Linked DNA regions of Homo sapiens: region 1 is linked to region 2. Evidence: promoter capture Hi-C in 16 types of primary human blood cells and fetal thymus (Javierre and others, 2016). All regions are on one chromosome and are shown on one strand. Each heading gives the region's core, a stretch centred on a gene start or on the middle of the fragment in contact. The rest is flanking DNA. Distances are from core to core; before and after follow the strand shown.

The links. The method cuts DNA at HindIII sites, captures the fragments that hold promoters and counts their contacts. A CHiCAGO score of 5 or more calls a contact.
Region 1: a contact is called between the fragment with the promoter of TRIM44 here and the fragment with the promoter of TTC17 in region 2, in 2 of 17 cell types (non-activated CD4 T cells and total CD4 T cells). The highest score is 6.5, in non-activated CD4 T cells.

What each region holds. Positions count from the first base shown.
Region 1 is chr11:35,656,703-35,664,324 of GRCh38, reverse strand. TRIM44 (tripartite motif containing 44) reads right to left here and starts at 1,550. Exons shown (of 5, transcript NM_017583.6): 1 at 545-1,550. The coding sequence starts at 1,213. RefSeq lists enhancers at 862-1,362, 1,574-1,893 and a silencer at 1,154-1,533. The HindIII fragment of the contact is 12,326 bases long and covers 1-2,527 here.
Region 2 is chr11:43,353,676-43,361,598 of GRCh38, reverse strand. TTC17 (tetratricopeptide repeat domain 17) reads right to left here and starts at 2,679. Exons shown (of 24, transcript NM_018259.6): 1 at 2,486-2,679. The coding sequence starts at 2,644. RefSeq lists a silencer at 2,341-2,420 and an enhancer at 2,551-2,820. The HindIII fragment of the contact is 2,829 bases long and covers 270-3,098 here.

The DNA.
Region 1 (7,622 bases), core at 301-2,800, 7.7 Mb after region 2:
CCATCTTCTTACCCTCCTTTTCTACTAAGTTTCAAACACGAAGAATCTAAAATGAACTCGGGGCACATATGAAGTTACTATTAAAACTATTTTGTTAGTCTTTTCAATGCAGACGTATCACTTGCTTGGATTCATGTGGCAAAATCCTATTTCCCATGTTTTCAAGTAGGCAAAAAGATTGCCTTATCAAGAGCCCTAGCACAAAGCACCAGTTTCAACAATAGTGATGCTGTGGAAATTGGCCTAAGTGGGGTCAAAACTCCCAAGAAATGCTTTACCTGGGATCCACAGACCAGAAACTTGCAATTTTCTAGAAATTGTATACTAGATTTTGTGTGTATTTTCTCAGGTCAGAGTCCAGAACTTTCATCAGATTCTCAAAAGAGTTCAACCAAAAACGGTGAATAAGAACTGCTCCCAAAAAGTTGGAAAGACTAGCTTCTTAGGGACACAGTGAAAGCGAATGTGGTCACAGCCAGGCCACCTGAGTTGAAACCCAGGTGTCCTGACCCCTAGGTTTATGCTCTGAAGGCCCAATACTTACTCTTAATTCTTCAAAGGCTTCGTCTAGGGTGGAGAGTTGGTGGCCCTGGTGAGCCCCAATGACTGGACACAGGACACAGATGAGCTGCCTATCTTCCTGGCAATAGGTACTCAAATCAAGCCCATGGTCCGGACACTTCCTCTTGGCCACTCTCTCTGCTTCCATTTCTATTTCTGGGTCAAATTCACTTTCTGCCTCAGTTTCTCCCTCCGCCTCGGATTCCCCTTCTTCTTGGTTGTCTTCTTCGGCCTCGCTTTCTTGCTCATCCTCCATTTCTTCCTCGCTGTCTTCTTCACTCTCCTCATCGCTCTCATCCTCACTCTCTTCCTCTGTCTCGCTCTCTTCCTCTGACTCGCTCTCTTCCTCCGACTCACTCTCTTCCCCTGCCTCGCTTTCTATCTCCCTCTCCTGCTCCACCTTGACCTCCGCTTCTTCCTTCCCCGCCCCCTCTCCGTCAGCTGGCGGGGTCCAGGCCTGGGAGCCGTGGACGTATTCGGCCAGATGGTGACTGAGGAACTTCTGCCTGTGCGCCTCGGCATGGCGGCGGCAGTAGCAGAAGCCGCATTCTCGGCACACTTCCTCGGCCCCCGGAGCCTCGTCGGGCTCGCACTCGTCACACGTGCCGTCGTGAGGCAGTTCCTCGAAGGCCGCGCCCACTCCAGAGGCCATGTGGGTGCTGTGACGCGGCCAAGGCCTCGGGGCCCCGGGGCTCGCCGCCTTCCTTCCGCGCGGCCTCACTTCCTCCTCCCGCCCCGGGTCCCTTCCTAGGGAGTCGCCTCCCGCCTGGACCGCGCCGCGTCTCGAAGCGGGACCTGGGGCCGCGGCAGCCCCTGCCCGGGCGCAGCAGCAAAGACCCTTTCCGCCGGCTCGGCCTGCTCCGCTCTGTCCCTGCGCTTCCTCTGCCGCGCAAGGCACTTCCGGCGCGGCCACCCGGCGCCCCCGTCGGCCCCCGCGTCGCGCCGCCCGCTCAGCCTCCCGCTACCAGGGAGAGATCGCGGCAGCCGCCGGCCCCCGCGCCGCCCCGGTTCCACTTTCCCTTTCCCCGTCAGGAGGCCTCCTTTTACTTCCTGAGTCATTTAAAGTGGCAATGACCCTTTTCTGCTTTTCCCGCGGGGCTCAGCTCCTCCGCTCCAAATCTCAGCGTGCCTTGGAGGAGGAGGAGGGAGAAGGAGGATGGAGGAAGTCTCTTACTCTCTCCAGAAGCAGGAATTGGGCTCCACCTCCCCCATTCCCTCCCTGGAAGTGTCAACTTGAGTTTTCACGGCCACTAGGCTGGTGTCCCTGTGCATTTCAGTCTCTCTTGTGCCAATTTGTCGCCGCCCGTCACAGTCCCCAGTGTTCTGCAAGGTGCCCGGACAGTGTTGTTTACCAGACTGAACCTGACCTCTTGGGATTTCCTGAGTGCGGAAGGGCTATGTTTGTTCTAGGCTAGGGGAATTGGAGTTAGGATGAGCAAACAAATATTTTCGATCCAAAGCAATACTGTGCTTTGTCTATTTGCATTGCTACCTCCTAGGATCTCAGAATTTCTGGGGTGGTAACCTCTGTGCGGTTTTCTGAGAGCTGCCTTCGGTTGGGCAGAGACGTCAGGTGAAGTGAGGTGGGGAGAGGCAGTATTTGTCGAGTGACAGGTCCAGGTTGCAGTCATTTTCCTTTATGTAAGGTGTCCCTCTAGATTCCCACTGGGCTCTAAGAGAAAAGAAGGGAACTGTTGTTTATAAAGCAGTACTGTAGTGCCAAGAACCCGGCTACATCTTTTTGTGGCTCTTTAAAAGCCGGTTTTGGAAGATCCTCTGCCCGATGGTCCCCAAATCCTGGTGCCACTACCTATCAGTTTTATGACCATGGACAAGTTAATTCATCATTCTGTTTTCCGCTTTTTAAAAAAGATGTTAAGTGAAAAGAACGGTAAATATCTACCTCATGGGGTAGTTTTGTGGATTAAATGTAACGATGCCTGCACTGTAGAGTATTCACTAAGCTTTCATTATTATTTTTGGCACAAATTATATTTAGTGCTCACAATGCCCCTTTGAAGGAACATATTTTACACACACAGGGCATTTTCGGCTGGCTGCTGGTAATGTAGGCAAGTCTCCACCTCTACCCCATATCCATGTCTCTCCATTCACAGAAGAGTTTTTGTTTTGCACTGTATTTGGGAGAGGGAAAATTACGTTTTTATCTAGTCAAGGGAGAGGCTGAGGTGTATTAAGAAGGATGAAAGGGGATGGAATGGTGTCTGTTTTACATTGATTCCCTTAGATGATTTTGAGTTAGAATTTCCAGATGCTTTCCTCAAACATACCAGGGGATGAGGTGGGGTAAAAAAACCTTTTTAATAGTTTTTAATGTCTCCATGGATAATGTATGCCTAATCTTTGTGCAGCTTTTGTTAGATATTTATTTTTTAGAAACCTTTCTTTTTAACCTCAGAACAATTCTATACAATGTTGAAAAAAATCAGGTTTATTTTGTTCCAATTCCATACACATTTCTGTTTTCCCCCAGCTCATTTCTCTGGAAATTATTTCTGTGTCTGCTTTTGAAACATGAATTGAAGCACCATTCTGAAAAAAAAAATTCAACAAATGTCAACTCAAACATCAACGTTAATATACCTAATGAGAAGTGTGCCTTGCTTGGTTATTTCTACTCCTGTCCTCCCCCAGGCTTAAAAGGAAACAACTTAGCCTTTACAAACATAACGTTCTCACATTTAGAAAGTCTTTTATTCAATGAAAATAATTTTTATTTTTTTTATTTATTTTTTTTTTTGGTGACAGGGTCTCTCTCTGTTGCCCAGGCAGGAGTGCAGTGGTTCAATCACAGTTCACTGCAGCCTCAGCCTCTTGGGCTCAAGCAGTCCTCCCAAGTGCCTCCCAAGTAGCTAGGACCACAGGCGTGAGCCACTAAGCCCCACTACTTGTTTTGGTATTTTTTGTAGAGACGGGGTCTCACTATGTTGCCCAGACTGGTCTTGAACTCCTGGACTCAAGTGATCCTCCCACCTCAGGCTCCCAAAGTGCTGGGATTATAGGTGTGAGCCACAGGCCTGGCCTTTTTAATATCTTAAAAGGACATTGTTGTATCCAGGGTATTTGATGAGGGGAGGGGGAGTCATGTCATCATTATTGTTATTACTGTTTCTTCTTAATGTTATCTGACAGAAAGTTAAAATATAATACTGTGCAGTTCAGTATCTGACACTTTACAATTCTTCTTGAGCACTCTGTGGAGAAAGGGTCTTAGAGGCAGACAGATTAAACTTTTTTTTTTTAAGATGGAGTCTTGCTCTTTTGCCCAGGCTGGAGTGCGTTGGCACGATCTTGGCTCACTGCAACCTCTGCGTCCCGGGTTCAAGCGATTCTCCTGCCTCAGCCTCCCAAGTAGCTAGGATTACAGGTGTGTGCCACCATGCCCGGCTACCTTTAGTATTTTTAGTAGAGATGGGGTTTTGCCATGTTGCCCAGGTTGCTCTCGAACTCCTAGACTCAAGTGATCCACCAGCCTCGACCTCTCAAAGTTCTGGGATTACAGGTATGAACCACCACACCTGGCCAGATTAAACTATTAAAAAGGGACTCCATAAATTTCTGGTGACAAGGTGTGGCAGACTCAATGAGGCAGATCTCTGTACCCCTCTGCAGAGAAATCCGAACCATCTGATTCCCCAGGAATTAGTATCTTTGGGAGTGTCCACAAATAGCACCCTTGTTATATTAACCTATTGCTACATAGAAAATGACATCAAAATGTAGCAGCTTAAAACAATAAACATTTATTATCTTACATAGTTTCTGTGAGCAAGGACTCTGGGAGTGACTTAGCTGAGTGGTTCTGACTTAGGGTCTTTCAAGAGATTTTGGTAAAGATGTTGGCTGTGCTATCGTCACTTGAAGGCTTACCTACAAGCATAGAATTTGCTTCCAAGATGGTTCATTCACATGGCTGTTGGCAAAAGGCCTCACCACTTTCTATAGGGCTGCTGGAATGTCTTCAAGACAGGGCAGTTGAATTCTCACAAAGCAAGTGATCCAAGAGAGGGCAAGATGGAAGATGCAATGTCTTTTATAACCTAAGTTCAGAAGTCACACGCCATCATTTCGTACATAGCTTATTGGTTAGAGATTAGCTCTATTCAGTGTGGGCAGAAACTGCACAAGGGCTTGAAAACCAAGAGATGGGAATCTTTGGGGCCATCTTGGAGGTTGGCTGTCACAGTCTGCCCTTTGGCCACCAATGATTCACGTATCTCCCAAATGTAAAATACACTCACTTCTTCCCAAGGTCCCCAAAAGTCTCAACCCATTATATTATCAGTTCAAAGTCTGGAGTCCTGTCATCTAAATTGGGACCAGGTGTGGATGAAGCACTTTGGTGTAGTGTTTTAAGTGCAGATCCTCAAGTATAGTTCATTTGAATGCCTATGTCTCCCACACCCCAACATGCAATGGTGGGACAGGTTTAAGATAACTGGTACAGGCTGGGCGCAGTGGCTCATGCCTATAATCCTAGCACTTTGGGAGGCCGAGGCGGGCGGGTCATCTGAGATCAGGAGTTGGAGACCAGCCTGGCCAACATGGTGAAACCCCATCTCTACTAAAAAAATACAAAAATTAGCCAGGCGTGGTGGTGCATGCCTGTAATCCCAGCTACTCAGGAGGCTGAGGCAGGAGAATTGCTTGAACCCAGGAGGCGGAGGTTGCAGTGAGCTGAGATCACACCACTGCACTCCAGCCTGGGTGACAGAGCAATACTCTGTCTAAAATAAAAATAAAAAAGATTAGTGGTACAGACAGTCCTGCTCAAAAAGGAGGAAAGACAGGAGGCCTGAGAAGTCACTGGCTCATAGAATCCTTAAATCCAGGTAGACACATTTTGGAAGCTGTTTGATTAGGGTTCAAACCTACTCCTTGTTCAGGAATGACTCCCCATGGCTTTTTATTTCACCCATTGAGCTCTTGATTCCACTCTCTGAGTCATCTTTCCTTTTCCATTAAAAGTAGTTCATGTTTGCAGCTGTGTAATTGTATCAATTTGCTTACTGCAAGTAGAATTTAGGAGGTCCAAAGGCTACTTTTCATTTTGTACTCTGTCTGTGTGTCCATGCTGGCAGTGCTTCTGCCAAAGAATTGTTTTGAAAACTTTGTGAATCCTCTATAAATCGAATTGGGGCTCATACCATTGGACAAAAATTATACATACAGCTCTTTTCAAGATAAACCCTTCTTTACTCTGTAGAATCCCTCAGTGAAACCACTAAAGCACAACACTATAAACTTCCTCCAAGCTCTATGGTTTGTTTGAATGATTCTATGAATCACTGCTATAGATCCTTTTGAGGTCTGAACAAAGGATTTTATAGCCGCACTCTTACCTTCATCATTTGATGATGTTTTGCTGGGAATGTCCTGGAGTTTTTCCTTGCCTGGAAGCCATTTTTTCACAGTAGCATCATTTGCCATCTGGGGAAGCTGGGAATTTTCAAAACTTGCAAGTTCCGGATTTTTTTTTAAGTCCTTCCTTTAGATGATCTCTTTCTTTTCACATTTTGCTATAATCAGCAAGAAAACATCAGTTAGCACCTTCAACAGTCTACCATGAAATATCCTTAGCTAGAACACTCAGCTGGTTAGGCACAATTTCTACTTTGCACATTACTGCAGGTGACAATGTTACTAAACTGCTGCCACTACATAACAAGGACCCTTTTCCTCCAGTTTCCAAAAACATGTTCCTCATTTCCCTTTAAGTTCTCACCTACAAAGGCTCTAGTGTTTTTCGCTCTTGTTGCCCAGGCTGGAGTGCAATGGCATGATCTCGGCACACCGCAACCTCTGCCTCCAGGGTTCAAGTGATACTCATGCCTCAGCCTCCCGAGTAGCTGGGATTACAGGCATGAGCCACCACGCCCGGCTAATTTTGTATTTCTAGTAGGGATGGGGCCTCTCCATGTTGATCAGGCTGGTCTCGAACTCCCGACCTCAGGTGATGTGCCCGCCTCTGCCTCCCAAAGTGCTGGGATTACAGGTGTGAGCCACCGCATCCAGCAAAGACTCTAGTCTTTCACTAACATTGTTCTCAAAGTCCTTCCAGCTTCTACCCTCTGCTCAGTTCTAAAACCATTCTAACATTTTAGGGTTTTGTTATGGAAAAACTATTCTTTTTAATAAAATTTGTGTTAGTTGTCTATCGCTACATAATGTAGGAAGGGAGGGGAAACTTCACCCTCAGAAGGTTTGCTATAAAATCACCTGAACAAAGGCAGATTAATAGAAGAAAAGATGTATAAATTTATTTAATATAAGTTTTACATTACACAAGAGTCTTCAGAATGAAGACCCAAAAGTACAGGGGGAAACTGTCTATTTTTATACTTAGGGTCAATGAAGTATGAACAGCCATGTAGAAATATGATTGAAGAAAAAAGGGTATGATCTAATGCTAATGTCAGGGGTGTTTGAACCAGAGCAACTCCATCTTGAATAGGGGCTAGGTAAAATGAGGCTGAGACCTACTGCGCTACATTCCTAGATGGTTAGGCATTTTAAGTCATAGGGTGAGATAGAGGGTGAGCACAAGATACAGGTCATAAAGACCTTGCTGATAAAACAGATGACAGTAAAGAAGCTGGACAAAACCCGCCAAAACCAAGATGGCAATGAGAGTGACTTCTGGAGATCCTCACTGCTACACTCCCACCAGCACCATGACAGTTTATAAATGCCAGGGCAACGTCAGGAAGTTACCCTATATGGTCTAAAAAGGGTAGGCATGAATAGTCCACCCCTTGTTTAGCATATAATCAAGAAATAACCATAAAAGTGGGCAGCCGACAGCCGTCTGCTCTGTCTATGGAGTAGCCATTCTTTTATTCCTTTACTTTCTTAATAAACTTGCTTTCACATTACGGACTCACCCTGAATTCCTTCTTGGGCGAGATCCAAGAACCCTCTTTTGGGGTCTAGATTGGGGCCCCTTTCTGATAACAATAACAGACTGAGTGGGGAGACAGCAGGGTCTGCCTGTCTAGATTCCTCTTGGCCTTTCTGTGCAACATTCCTTCCTTCTAGGT
Region 2 (7,923 bases), core at 1,430-3,929:
ATATAACCATTCTGTTTTTCACTTTCAGTGAAGTATTCATGAATTACATGAGGTATTTTGATACTTTATTGTAAAAGATGCTGTTAGATGATTTTGCCCAAATTTGGCTAATGTAAGTATTGTGAGCACGTTTAAGGTAGGTTAGGCTAAGCTACAATGTTTGGTAGGTACATTAAATGCATTTTTGACTTACAGTATTTTCGACTTACAATGAGTTTATCAGCACATAACCCCTTCATAAGCTGAGGAGCATCTGTATATACTAAGCTTTTAATTATGTTTCTGAATGTACAAATCTGCAATATATATGGATTTCATACACTAATGTGATCTTTCAAGTCCTTAAGTACAGTATATACAAATATTATAATTAATCACGATCTAAATTGATAGTTTGGATTCTACCTGCATACAAATTATGGCCAGGAAGGGAAGCATGGGTCATGCACAATCAGCTATCAGAGTGGAACTCGGCAGCTCACCACAGCACCCAATTCTTTTACTTTATTTATATGTGGTGCCTTTTCTTCAGATTAAATCCAACTTTCCTCCCCTGGCCTCTTATTGTTACACTGCAGACACCAACCTTATTTCTTCTGGCATAAAATCTTGTGGCTGCCTGAACATAACATTGTAAATGTTATGTATAGCAAAGTATTGGAAAATTCAATGAAAAGGATCACTTAAAAAGTCATGTAATAGAGAAATCTTGCTTTTTAAACTTTAAGCCTAATTACTTAGCTCAGCAGTGACTTGGCAGAGATCCAAAAGATTCTTCAGCTCTTCCCTGCTTCTCTGAGGCAAGTTTCCAGTAACCCCTGCCTTCCCCCATTAATACATATGTATCCAAAGTGCAAAAAGAAGGAATTTGTTAAAAAAAAAAAAAAAATCAGACTCTACTTTCCCATTGCAATGTTAAGTATATACATAAAACATTTCTACCAGCTTTCACTTTTTAGATGGGCTACTTTTTCAGCTGAGTGGTAGGACACCAAAATGGGAAGGAGAAGTCAATGTCATAGAGTATAAATAGCTGTGGCCAAAAACAATATTGCAGAAGAGCCAACAGGAGAAAGGCTCCCCAAAATGCAGCAGGAGTGACTTAATTCCACGTCTTCATAGAGACCTCAGGGAAAACCACTATCAAGAAACAAAAGAAGGGTGGAAGCAACCAGCACTCACATATGGTCTTACAGTGTTTTCTTGGGTTTCTGAAACACATACACATATATTTAAAGTCTCAGATAGTATGGCAATGAAAAGGAAACTGTTCTTTATGTATGTCATATAGAAAACGTTACCCAATAGGAACACGGTCTTTTCTTAGATATGCTGAAAACCACTCATGAATACCTAGGCGGATTTTTAGTTATACTTAACTTACTTGAGATAGAATTTGCAATTACATTACACGGCAAATCTAAATCTAAACCTCACCTTAAACGTTGGAATGTGTTCCTATCATGATTCATTACACACAATCCAAAGGACCAGTAATTTCCCACCACACTAGTTAAAACGTTTTAGATCAGTGGGCTAAATTGCATGGGGCACACAATTCACTTTCTAAATGTTTGCTAGACACTTCAAGATTGTCCTCAAGTGTTCGAAGTCAGTAAGTTTACCAATATTCTGTAGCGGAACACACACACGCACTCGTTAGGCATCAGCAGCATTTACAAAACGCAGGCAATCATAAAGTTATATAAGAAAAGCAGTCTCGCCTCTGAGGAATTAGTTCAGGCATACAAGAATCCAGGAAATCGCATATCCTCCATGCGAGGCTGGGTCACAAGAACTAGGTAAAGAAACAAAGCAAAGTGCACTGGGAAACGAGGGCAGTAACAGCTGAAAAGATGCAGGCAACGCCACCAGCGGCATCTTCAAGCATTCCTTCTGAAGGGGAGTGTTTCTATGTTGTTTCTAATGAGCCACTGCTGACCTGAGTAACGGTACAAGCTGAAACCAACACAACCAGAAACGAAATCCACCATGTGGTAGACGAGACTAGGGGAGCAGCACGAATGGTCCACAGGCTAGGGGTCCAGAAGCTGTCATACCATGGGACTCGCGCACACCCTGGAGCTGCCACCTGCTTTCTATTTCCTCGGGGAGGGCCGGTGACGCGTGAACCCGAGAGGCACCAAAGGCAGGAATCCTGAAATCTGTGATTTCTAAACCCCGAGCTAAAAAAAGGTCCGTAGGGCCCGTCTCCCGCAGCTGGGCGACTCTTCCCCACGCGGCGCGCGGCCCGCGAGGTGGAAGGGTGAGAACTTCTAGGGGGCCAAACGAGGACCAGGAGACAAGTGGGGAGCGGGAAGTGCCTGCCTGGTCCGAATGCAGGGAGTCCGAGGTCGCGGTGCCACCTCCCTGTGAGGGTAGGCTGGGGGCGGGGCCGCGCGGAGCCCAACAGCCAGGGGCCAAGCAGGGTAATCCCCCCGGGGCGAGGGCGGGCACGGGAGAAGAGGGACGCCCCGGCCGCTACCTGCTGCTGGATTTTCCCGTCCTCCGTGACGACCCAGTGCGTGGTGGCGAAGGCCCCTCGTGCCGCCACACTCAGCAAGGCGGAAAGGCTGAGGAGCCAGCCTGGGCCGGAGCAAGGCGGCAGCTCGTACCGGCCACGAACCCCTACTGCCGCCGCCATCTTGCCCCCCCGGCCGGGCCGCTCACACCGGAAGCGGAAGCTAGTCTCCGGCGCCCGCCATCTTGAAGAGGTCGGCCCTGGAGGAGGAGCAGGAGGAGGAGCCGAGAGGGCGTAGCTCGCTGACTACCAAGTTTCCTCCACCTCGGTTTTGGCGGCCAGGAAGCGCGACCTTCGGCTACTCTCCCAGCTTGGCTTCAGGGATGGAGACCGCTTTTTAGTTATTGTTTTTCTGTGGGTGATACGATCTCGGAGCGTGGGAACCGGAGGGAGACAAAAGCAGTGGCTTAGGTGGCGCTTAAGCAGAAGTGAAAGGACTCAATTTTATTGTTTTTTAAATCTTTGTTTTTTCGTTTTATTTCTGGTAGATAGTTGGGGAACAAAAGGTGTGCTTTCGAACCACCTATGGGAAGAGAGGTGTTGCTTTTATTCTTAAAGTCTCACAATAGTGGAAGCTTCAGAATGGAGACGGTTGTTAGTTTAGGGCACCGCTGTCCAGTAGCACTATAATGCGAGCCACGTGTGGAATGTAAAATATAGAGGGAAGTAACCCTACTAGTACATTTTATTTAACTCAAAGTACACAAAATATTAATTCAATGTGGTCTGTACAAATCATTGAGATAGTTTAGTTTTTTTTTTTTTAACTAAGTCTTGGAAATCGGCATGTTACACTGACAGCTTATCTAGTCATATTTCAGGGGCTTAATACCCGCATGTGGCTAACGTACTGGTCAGCACAGGTCTAAGCTAGAGGTCTAGGTCTGGAGACCAGAAACATTGGCATCACCTGGGAGCTTTTTAGACCTGCACATTCTCGGCTCTTCTCCCTCTCCCCCGCAACCTGCTGAATCAGACTACATTTTAACAATAGCCTCAGGTGACTGGTATACATATTAAAGTTTGAGAACCACTTTCTTCTAGTGAACCAACAGGCAGGCAGGCAGGCGTCAAGCTTGGCTGCCAGCTTCTTGCTAGATATGTCATTTTAGGTCTTTCAAGATTGCCCTCTGTGTGTGTTATTTAAGGTTGGTATGCTTTTGGTTTTCTCCTTGGGAAAAGAAGGATGAGAATATTGTTTAACCACTTCTCTACACAAGTGTATGCAGGAGAGCAGTTGCTAAGTGTTTAAACACCACGCTATAGAAATGTAGAAACAACCACAGCATTGGTGTTTTTTTTTTCTTCATTCCAGGAACAGCTTTTCTTAAAGGCCTGAAGACTGAACATTCATTTCATTAAAAATATATGGCTTATTTGCTTTTTGCCTGGTACTCTGATAGTCTCTGGGTATGGAAATGTAACCATTGGGCAGTGTGCAATATAGTGAGATATTATTGGCAGGTTAACAATTAAAATACAGGATAATGGGGGTGTATGAATGCATATGTACAGGAGAGAGCAACCAACCAGGTGAAAAAAAGGTTTGGAGCTCAGGTGCTGGTTCAGGCAGAATAATAAGTGAAAAGGTGAAGTTGGCCGGGCGCGGTGGCTCACGCCTGTAATCCCAGCACTTTGGGAGGCCGAGGTGGATGGATCACTGAGGTCAGGAGTTCAAGACTGGCCTGGCCAAGATGGTGAAACCCCGCCTCTACTAAAAATACAAAAATCAGCCGGGCATGGTGGCGGGCACCTGTAATTCCAGCTACTTGGGAGGCTGAGGCAGAGAATTGCTTGAACACGGGAGGCGGGGATTGCAGTGAGCCGAGATCACACCACTGCACTCCAGCCTAAGTGACAGAGCGAGAATCCGTCTCAAGAAACGAAAAGGTGAAGTCAGTGGCATGTTTTAAGAGTTTCTTGGAGTTTAGACATAGGCAATAGGGAGTGTTTCAGAATTTTAAAATAGAGAAGTGGCAAATGATGGAATCCCTTTTGTCTCAGCATCTTATTTTTGGGGCATAGAGGTCAACCCTATTTCTTGTGTATAAAGCTGACATCATCATCATCTAACATTTCTTGAGTGTTTAATACGTACTGGGTCCTGTACATGCATAGTTCCTATTAATCGTCACAACTTACCAAGCTCTGGCTAGTTAAGTAAGTTGGCCAAGATCATATTGCTAAGTGGTAGAGCTCAGGTTTGGACTCAGATCCACCTGACTCTAGATCTGAGAGCCTGAGAATGAATGAATGTTAGTGAGGAATTTGAGAAAGGCCCCAGCATCACATATTTTGCTATCAGCAATTTCTTTGACCTTCACAAGTTAACCTCTAAAGGGGTGGAATTATAGCTTCTATAGCTTTATTATACCACCTATTTTCTGTAGATGATAACTCTTATCTTTTGGGATCCTGTATTAGTTTTCTAATGCTGTGTAACAATTGCCACAAACTTAGCTTAACACATTATCTGACAGTTTCCTTGGGGCAAAAGTCTTCTGCTGTGGTGTGACTGAGTTCTCTGCTCAGTGTCACAAGGCTCATATCAAGGCTGCAATCTCATCTGAGGCTTGGGGTTCCTCAGTCAAGCTCATTCTTCAAGTCCTTGGCAGAATTCAATTTATTGCCAATGTAGGACTGAGGGCTCCATTTTCTTACTGGCTGCTGATTGTGGCCATTAACATTGAGGCTACCCACAGTTTTCTGCCATGTGGCTCTCACAATGGCAGTTATTCCTTGAAGGCAAGCAGAATATTTCCACTGCTGAAATCTCTTGAATTCCTCTATCTCTAAGCCTAGACTTAAAGGGCTCATGTGAGTTGATAAGGTCTATCTGAATAATATCCCTTTTTATTCAACTGATTAGTAACTTTAATGCCATCTGCAAAAATTTCGTTTGCCATATAACATTATCTTAGTCCATTTTGTGTTGTTATAACAGAATACCTAAAGCTGGGCAATTCATAAAGAAAAGAGGTTTAATTGGCTTATGATTCTGGTGGCTGAAAAGTCCAAGATTGGGCAGCCGCATCTGGTAAGGGCCTCACGCTGCTTCCACTTAGGGAGGAAAGCAGAAGGGGAGTGGGTGTGCATAGAGATCACATGTTGAGAGAAGCAGCAAGAGAGACAAATCAAGAAAGCCAAACTCTTTTAACAACCCACACTCGAGAACTAATTCATTCCTGAGAGAGCAAGAACTCACCTCCCCCCCCACCACCGTGAGGGCATTAATCTGTTCATGACAGATCCACCCCCATGACCCAGAAACCTTCCACTAGGCCCCATCTCCCAACACTGCCACATTGGGTACCAAATTTCAACATGAGTTTTGGCGGCCCTAACCACATCCAAACCTATGATCACAGGAGTGATATCGTATTCATGTTTTACCCACATAGTCAAGTTAGGAAATTTCCCCCTTTTCTACTCTATTAAGGTGAAATGGACAAAATTGTATATATTTAGTGTACAACATGATGTTTTAATATACGTAGGGGAGATTTTATGCGGGCAAGGACCATTGGGTATCATCTTAGAATTTTGCCTACCACAGATCTTGACTGCCAAGTACCATTCTTCTAGTCTTTCACTGAACTGTTTTAAGTATCACAGACTAATTTAGACATACTTTTGCTCCTGTTCCCTGCCTAAAATCCTTTCCTCATGCTGCTTTCTCAAATCTATTTAAGATACAGTTGAAATCCTAGCCTGCAAAAATGTCTGTCAACTTGTTTGCCACCTCTGAATTCTGTCAGTAATATGACAATACTATGCTGCTTTGTGATATTATTTTATAAACTTTGAACAGCCAAACTCTTGAGTGGTTCTTGCAATAGTTCTTAGTTCTAATCTGGTGAGGCAGAACACTCAAACAGTAAGTCAGGCAAAGCAAATTTTTTACAAATAGGCAGCAAAGATACACAGAAATGGAGGATCCATGGTTAGCTGATCCCATGGCTCAGGAAAGCTGCTTAGGGCAGATGGAGCCTCATCTGCACATACCCCATGTTGCAGCACAGATGAGGGACTCCAAAAACACTTTGGGTTTTATACCCTGGGTGTAACTGAGATTGCTGAGTACAAGTGTTGCAGAACATCCTGTTTTAGGAAAAATGAGGACGCAGCCCAGGTTGTTCTGGAAGCTTCCTCCTTATCTCAGGATGTTGCATTCTCAGTACATTCTGCCTGAAAATTGCAAGCAAGAGGGGGAAGAGCTGGCATGGCCAAGGCCATCCAGGGACCTGTCATCTTGCAATTCTATAATTACCTACACTAGCAACTGAGGGCAGGAAGCATTTCCTATACTAACATTTTTATCTTCCTTGGAACTTCTGTGCAAAATAGTTTGTTGACTCAGTTTTTTAGCTCCCCCAAATGTAGCATTCCCATTTTGTGTGAATAAAACAAAAAACTTAAATAAAATTGTTCCTACTAATTTTCTACATCCAGATCACTTGTCACCGTTCTTTTATTCTGTTGTTCTAAGATCTGATGTTTCTTTTTTCATTATACTTTTCCTCTTCGATGAAATTTATAGAAATACAGGATGGCAGTTGACAAAATTGCTGATATCTCAAATTGTGATTCAATTGTTAGTTCAACGAATGATAGGCAAGTCCCTAACTGCATGTAATTTAGTCTTTCAACATATTTTAGCAAATAGGTCTTTTATTTACTATTACTATAAATCATAGAATTCTTGAAGTTATGAATTAGAATTCATTCTGTTGATAGAATGAATGATCTTTCTGGATTAACGTCCTCCCTTGGGCCACCTTACCTGAAAATTGCAAAGGATTTACATACTGCCTATTCCTTAGAGAAAATATTTAAGATATAAATACCCCTAGGGAGGAGGGTAACACTCTGGCTTACATTCTGTTATCTTTTGCTTTGTAATAAAACCAATGTAAGTCTTAGAGGTTTAAATTTTAAGCCTTAAAACATGATTTATTATTTTTCAGTTTGTTGGACTCAGCTGGGTGGTTCTTCTGCTACTCCTGGTGTTGGCTGGGGTCACTCTTAAGGCTGCATTCAGCTAGGAGCTCAGCTGAGGCTGAAATGTTCCAAACTGGCTCCACCATGTCTGGTGCTTTACTTGGAGTGGTTGAAATGGCTGGGGGTAGCTGGGCCTCTCTTAGACAAGGAGTTACATAGACTTCTTACAGGGTGGCTCAGGGTGCTGAAAGAATAAAAGGAAGCTGCCAGGCTTTCAGAGGGTCAGGCCCCAGAAGTGGTAAAGCATCATTCTGCATTCTCCTGGTTAAGGAAAGTAACAAGCTTAGCCCAAATTCAAGTGTGGATGGACACAGATTTATCTTGATAGGAGAAACAGCATGTTTGAGTAGGAATGGAAGGAATTATTGGCATCCTACTATATATAATTCTTTTTTTTTTTT